Regions from separate parts of the Homo sapiens genome. Here region 2 is linked to region 1. The links are contacts of gene promoters, found by promoter capture Hi-C in blood cells and fetal thymus (Javierre and others, 2016). All regions are on one chromosome and are shown on one strand. The core of a region is centred on a gene start or on the middle of the fragment in contact, and the rest is flanking DNA. Distances in the headings are between cores, read along the strand shown. Region 1 holds the start of AQP10 (aquaporin 10). Region 2 overlaps TDRD10 (tudor domain containing 10).

Region 1 (3,478 bases), core at 371-2,870:
TACATGTAGCGAATGGGCATATTGGCTCCCAAGGGGGAATCTGGGTGGAGCACTATAGTATCCATTAAACCTAGTAAAGAAATATTATTTCTTTACTAGTCACACAGATGTGCCCAGGACAGTGGTAGAGCCCACAGGGTTACATAAATCATAATGGTAGCCCTCAAGAACTTCATAAACTGTATATGGTATTTTAAAAAGTTGCATATTGTCTGTTTCCACCTACTAGAACATAAGCTCTAGGAGGGCAGAGACTATGTTTTGTTCACCACTGTTTCTCCAGTGTCTAGACGTAGATTCTTTGAATGCATTTAATTGGAGCCTTGAGATATGAAGAAGTAGGATGCGGTTACTTCATGCAGAGCAAGAGTGGCATGCACCCAGAGAAGGCCAGGTGGAGCTCAGCATGAGTGTGAAGGCCTCATGTCAAGCCATGTCAGGGGACACAAAGATGGAGTATTCTCTAACCTATGTGACACTCGGCATAAGGGAAGTACAAGCACTCAATATGTGAGTTTCATTCCCACAGTCTGTGGTCTTTAGCCCAGTCTTTCCAGATGCCTATTGAGTTCTTCAAGCATCCAAATGGTTTGGGGTAAGGCTTCAGGTTCTAAATGAGAGGCTTTGTGGGTTACCAGCTGGAGAGTCAGAAAATCTGGATTTGAATTCACTCAGCCATGAAATAATTGTGTGATCTTGGGCCGGGCACGGTGGCTCACGCTTGTAATCCCAGCACTTTGGGAGGCCAAGGAAGGTGAATCACTAGAGGTCAGGAGTTTGAGACCAGCCTGGCCAACATGGTGAAACCCCGTCTTTTTTTTTTTTTTTTTTTTTGAGACAAAGTCTCGCTCTGTTGCCAGGCTGGAGTGCAGTGGCACAATCTCGGCTCACTGCAACCTCCGCCTCCCTGGTTCAAGTGATTCCCCTGCCTCAGCCTCCCGAGTAGCTGGGACTACAGGCGTGCACCACCACGCTAATTTTTTTGTATTTTAGTAGAGATGGAGTTTCACCATGTTGGCCAGGATAGTCTTGATCTCCTGACCTCGTGATCTGCCTGCCTCGGCCTCCCGAGAAACCAAGTCTTTACTAAAAAATATCAAAATTAGCCAGGTGTGATGGACCTGTAGTCCCATCTACTTGGGAGGCTGAGGCAGGAGAATTGCTTGAACCTGGGAGGTGGAGGTTGCAGTAAGCTGAGATGGTGCCACTGCACTCCAGCCTGGGGGACAGAGCAAGACTCTCTCTCAGAAAAAAAAAAAAAAAAAGTTTGATCTTGGGGAGTTCTAAGGCCCACTAGCCTCATCTGTAGAATGGAAGCAATAGTACTACTTTGCAGAGCTGACTTCAGGACCAAGAGATCTAATGTCTATGAAGCGGGGTACTTCCTTCTATTTGTCAGGATGGGGGAGGCTAGTCCTGTGATGACTGGGAATGAAGGGTAAAAGAGACAGAGGTTGGGTAAACTCCAGGCTCTGTGTTCATAGCCTGCTCCCAGACATTCTCTTGTTATCTCTCTGTTTCCTAGCCTACACACGTGCACAGACACGTAGCTGCTGTTCAGGAACTGAGCTAATGGTTTTAAAGTCTGTTCCTTATCTTTGCTGGAGGCAGGCAGTAGCTGTGCAGTGACAGTGTGCCTATGCAGACAGAGGGAGCAGTGAATAGCAATAGGGTGTTTCCACCATGGTCTTCACTCAGGCCCCGGCTGAAATCATGGGCCACCTCCGGATACGCAGCCTCCTGGCCCGGCAGTGCCTGGCAGAGTTTCTGGGTGTGTTTGTACTCATGGTAGGTAGGATCACTGCGGGAAGGAAAGAAGGGGGTTGGGCAAAAGTTCCTGGCTCCTTCTGTTGTCCTTATCTCTTTCTCTTGGTGTCCCCCTTCCTCTCAACTCCCTATCACTTTTCGTTTTTATCCTCTCGTCTCTCCTAATCTCCTTTCCTCTCCTACTTCATCATTTTTATTCTTGTCATTTTTATTCTTTCTTTAATAACAAGTGTATCATAGTTCTTGAAACATAATTTTTCTCTCTTCAGTTTCCCATTTTTATGAAAGACCATTTTCATGGTAAGACCAATGTGCTTTATTATACTTGGCCTGATGATTGTATAAAGTGCAGCAAGAATAATTATTTTTCACATAGGCTTTTAAAATTGGCTTTGATGGAACTCTTCCATAGAAAGAATCTTAGATAAGACTTTTTAAAGCTGAGCCCTGCCATGGGTTTGTACCCTCAAATGCCTATGAGTTGGGTAAATTCTTTTCTTTTTTCCCACATTCTTTCCCTTTCTTCTTCCTCCACTTTCCCCATTTCTTTTCCCTTCCCTCCTTCTGCTTTTCTCCTTCCCTTGCTTGTCTTCTGTGCTCATTCATCTCCTTGGCTGCTCCCCTGGCCTTCCCAACCTTTCTCCCTGTTGGTCTCCTGGGCTCCCTGTTCCTCATCTCTCCTCTTCTCAGCAGCTCCTCACCCAAGGAGCTGTGGCCCAGGCTGTCACCAGTGGAGAAACCAAAGGCAACTTCTTCACCATGTTTCTGGCTGGCTCTCTGGCCGTTACGATAGCCATCTACGTGGGTGGTAACGTCTCAGGTGAGGAGGGTGGGGTCTGGTCATCAGAGCACGTGGGATGTGCATGCCAGTTTGTCTGTCTGGTGATGGTGGAAACGCAAATCCTTCTGTGACTCGTGGACATTATCCCCTTGAACAGTGTCCCAGACTGAAATAAGCCTTTGGCCCCACCAGCCCCTCCTCTTTCTGTATCTCTCCATCCTGCTTCCTCACACTAATGCTTGGCTCACCTAGACAGAAATCAATGGCAGGGCACGAAGGGCAGCTGCTATCCTCTTGTATCCCCCACCTGAAGTCCTCTGGGGGCTCATCTCCACTCAGGACCTCTCCTGTTTGTACCCCAGATACACACTGCATCGGTGTGCTTGGGTGGAGCCTTGAGACATAGTGTGTTGCTGTGGAAAAAGCAGACAGACCTAGGTTCCAACTTTGGATTCACAGTGTCTTCTTCTTTTTTTTTTTTTTTTTTCTTTTTTTTTGAGATGGAGTTTCACTCTGTTGCCCAGGCTGGAGAGCAGTGGTGTGATGTCTGTTCACTGCAACCTCTGCCCCTGGGTTCACGCGATTCTCCTGCCTCAGCATCCCGAATAGCTGATTTTACAGGCACCTGCTACCACGCCTGGCTAATATTTGTGTTTTTAGTGGAAACGGGGTTTCACCATGTTGGCCAGGCTGGTCTGGAATTCCTGACCTCAAGTGATCCACTGCCTCGGCCTCCCAAAGTGCTGGGATTACAGGCGTGAGCCACTGTGCCTGGCCCACAGTGTGACTTTGCTAAGTCACTTAACATCTGTAACATCTGGAGCCTCAATTTCCTAAGCTGTGTGATGAGAATTACACTATCTGCCTTAAGAGCTATAGGAAGGAGCAGTAGTGTTGTCTGGTGACAATGCCTGGCAGTGACACTTAATA
Region 2 (3,478 bases), core at 640-3,139, 210 kb after region 1:
GGCTCAGGCAGCGCAGGAGCCCATGGCGGGGTGGTGGGGAGACTCAGGCATGGCGGGCTGCAGGTCCCAAGCCCTGCCCTGCGGGGAGGCAGCTAAGGCCTGGTGAGAAATCAAGCGCAGCACCAGTGGGCCAGCACTGCTGCGGGACCTGGTGCACCCTCCGCAGCTGCTGGCCTGGGTGCTAAGCCCCTCACTGCCCGGGGCCGCTCTGAGTGCGGCCCGCAAAGCCCACGCCCACCCAGAACTCTAGCTGTCCTGCAAGCACCGCGCGCAGCCCTGGTTCCCACCTGTGCTTCTCCCTCCACACCTGCCTGCAAGCCGAGGGAGCCAGCTCTGGCCTCGGCCAGCCCAGAGAAGGGCTCCCACGGTGCAGCGGCGGGCTGAAGGGCTCCTCAAGCGCGGCCAGAATGGGCGCCGAGGCTGAGGAGGCACCGAGAGCGAGCGAGGGCTGCGAGGGCTGCCAGCACGCTGTCGCCTCTCATTTTTTTCATTCCATGTGAAATTTTCCTGGTTCTTGGTATGATGAGTGAGTTTCACTGGAAACTTGGACATTTTCTTGTTACGTTGCTAGACTAGATTTTGTATACACCTTGTGTTTTAACTGGCTTCCTCTGATGCTGCTCCCACAGGGGAACACGGTACTGCCTCGCTGCTGCCAGGTGAGGATGGAAGTCAGGCTCCCTACTCAGCCTCTAAGGCGGCAGCGAGCCCCTTGTTACTGCCAGTTCTAGTTTGTGGTCTCCACTGACATCTTGGCGTGGATGGCTTCATTACCGCTGAGGAAAGTCTTGACTCTCCACTACACTTCTGACACCCCCCCCAGTAGGGAGAGAGAGGGGGGCTTTCTCTCTGTGAGGTGGGTATGGAAGTCCAGGATTCCCAAGTGGTTTCTATTGACACCCAGGCAGGGTGGTGGTAGGGAGAGACCGGTTTCTTTATTGGGTAGGGGATGAAATTCCTGGCTGCCTGCTTGGCCCTTTGTGACACCATCAGGGTGGGGGTATTGGGCGACTCATCCCAGCCCCATGAGGGCAGAAGTCTGGGCCCTGCATGCTGTCTTTGTTGGCATGCGTGGAGGTGGGATCTCCTTGTTGGTGGCATTTAGCTGGAGTAAAGGAGTTATTATCTACAAGCTTTCTGTCTTCCTAGCCTGTCTCTTCTGGTGCTTTGGCTAGAAAGAGCAGGCTTTTGTTGGGTTTTTTTTTTTTTTTTTTCTGGACCTACTGGTGTTTCTGGGTTGCTGGCCTCTTCAATTCTAAGTTTGGAATATATAAAGCAAAAGGAAAACCCAGAGAAGTCATCACCACGTTGTACCCTGGGTTCCAAGGTCTCTGGTCAGCCTGTTCCCTTCTCTCCATCTTTCAGAGTCTTCTTATGTTTGTTTTACATGTAATGTCCTGGGCTCTTAGTTGTGTTTAACAAAACTAAGATGAAGTATGTATATTTCATCTTCTCAGAGTGGAGGTTCTAAGAATGGTTTTTATTTATTTATATTTTTAGAGCAGGGTCTTGCTCTGTTGCCCAGACTGGAGTGCAGTGGTGTGATCTGAACTTACTGCAGCCTCGAACTCCTGGGCTCAAGCAGTCCTGCCTCAGCCTCGTGAGTAGCTGGGACTACAGGCGTGTACCACCATGCCCAGCTGATTTGGCCTCAAGCAATCCTCCTGCTTTAGCCTCCCAAAGTGCTGGGATTGCAGGGCAGCCACTGTGCCCAGCCATATATATATATATATATATTTTTTTTTAATTTTCTATTGTTTGTAGAGATGGGGTCCCACTATGTTGCCCAAGCTGGTCTTGAACTCCTGGCAAGCAATCCTCGTGTCTCCACTTCCCAAACTGCTGGGATTATAGGCGTGAGACCCCCCAGCCGTATTTTTAAATGGGAAAAAAAATGAAGAATATTTCATGACACATGAAAATTGTATGAAATTCAGTTTGTGTCCATGAAACATTCCTGGCATGCAGCCTCAGCCATTTGTTTACAGATTGCCTGTGGCTGCTTCCTCACTACAGCAGCAGAGTGGACTCATGACAGACAGTAAGGCCCCCAAAATCTAAAATATTTACTATCTGGCCCTTTGCAGAAAAAGTTTGCCAGTTCCTGGGTTAAGATCTAGGCTATTTTTTAAAAAACAAAAATAAACAGGATGAAAATGCCTGGAAATCAATGCAAGAAAGAAACAACCTAATAGAAAAATGGGCAAGAGCTAGGAATAGGCACCTTTTGTAGGTGAAGATGCATAAAAGCCAGGCTGCAACTTTCCCGTTGCTTACCACGAGGTGGCAGTTTCTGACAACACCTGGTGGTTTTCCATAGCCTGCTCCGATCAAGTCAGCCACCTTTGATGCTCCTGGTTTCCATGGCTTTGCCCATCCTGGTAGAACTATCCGCTGAAGGAGTGGGGAGTGGGGAAGCCCCAGATGCTCACTGTTTTCGTACAAAGGTCAGTCGTTGTTGTTATTGTTTTCTTTTTAATAGATGTTTTCAATTTCTTGTATGCTTCAGTCAATTTCCAGAGTCCTGAAGTGATTGTTTTTGACAATTTGTCAAGATTTGTTATTGCTTTTTGGGGAGAGGATTTGTTGATTGAAATATTTTGTAGTGAAATTGTTTTAAAGAAAAGAAAAGGTAAAATTAGAAGATAAGCTTACGTGGCACAACACGCATCCAGGCAGTGTTCAGGTCAGCGTGGGGGAGAGATTATCAAATGATATAAGATAATTTCCCATGGGTGAAGGATGTGAGTTTTCAGATACAAAGCAGCCAATGAGTGCCCAGGATAATGAATGGGAAAATAAAAACCTACATGAAGGCACTTTACAGAAGTATTTTAGAATACTAGGGATAAAGCTTTAGGAAGAGAATCCACATTGAAGGATATGGAATCAGGTGGTGTGATTGAATTCTTCAGGAAAATAATATCCAAGCCCAAACAAGTCAGTCAAGAATAAGGGTAGCACTTTGGGAGGCCGAGGTGGGCGGATCACTTGAAGTCAGGAGTTTGAGACCAGCCTGGCTAACATGGTGAAACTCCATCTCTATTAAAAATACAAAAATTAGCCAAGCGTGGTGGTGCACACCTGTAATTCCAGCTACTCGGGAGGCTGAGGCAGGAGAATCCCTGGAACCTGGGAGGCAGAGGTTGCAGTGAGCTGAGATCATGCCACTGCACTCCAGCCTGGGCATCAGAGTGAGACTCCATCTCAAGAAAAAAAAAAAAAGAGAGAGAGAATATAAGGGTAAGCCATCTGCAGTGGTGTGTACCTGTAATCCCAGTGCTTTGGAATTTGGGATTTGGGAAGCTGAGGTGGGAGGATTGCTTCAGGCCAGGAGTTTGAGAACATCCTGGGCAACCCTGTCGACAAAAAATGTGCCGGGTGTGGTGGCACACACATGTAGTCCCAGCTACTGGTGAGGCTGAGATGGGAGGATCACTTGACCTGAAGGAGTTTGAGGTTGCAGTGAGCTATGATT

Evidence for each region. Contacts are between HindIII fragments. The CHiCAGO score rates a contact against its expected background, and 5 or more counts as called.
Region 2: a fragment that was not itself captured here is called in contact with the fragment with the promoter of AQP10 in region 1 in 2 of 17 cell types (M1 macrophages and endothelial precursors); the score reaches 5.5 in M1 macrophages.

Annotation. Positions count from the first base shown.
Region 1 is chr1:154,319,473-154,322,950 of GRCh38, forward strand. It overlaps AQP10 (aquaporin 10), which reads left to right and starts at 1,621. Exons shown (of 6, transcript NM_080429.3): 1 at 1,621-1,788; 2 at 2,461-2,587. The coding sequence starts at 1,684. RefSeq lists a silencer at 1,400-1,591. The HindIII fragment of the contact is 12,155 bases long and covers 1-3,478 here.
Region 2 is chr1:154,532,158-154,535,635 of GRCh38, forward strand. The region is part of intron 6 of TDRD10 (tudor domain containing 10); the gene reads left to right. Among named protein-coding and RNA genes, the nearest start is that of UBE2Q1-AS1, 20 kb to the right of the region's middle. The HindIII fragment of the contact is 1,517 bases long and covers 1,132-2,648 here.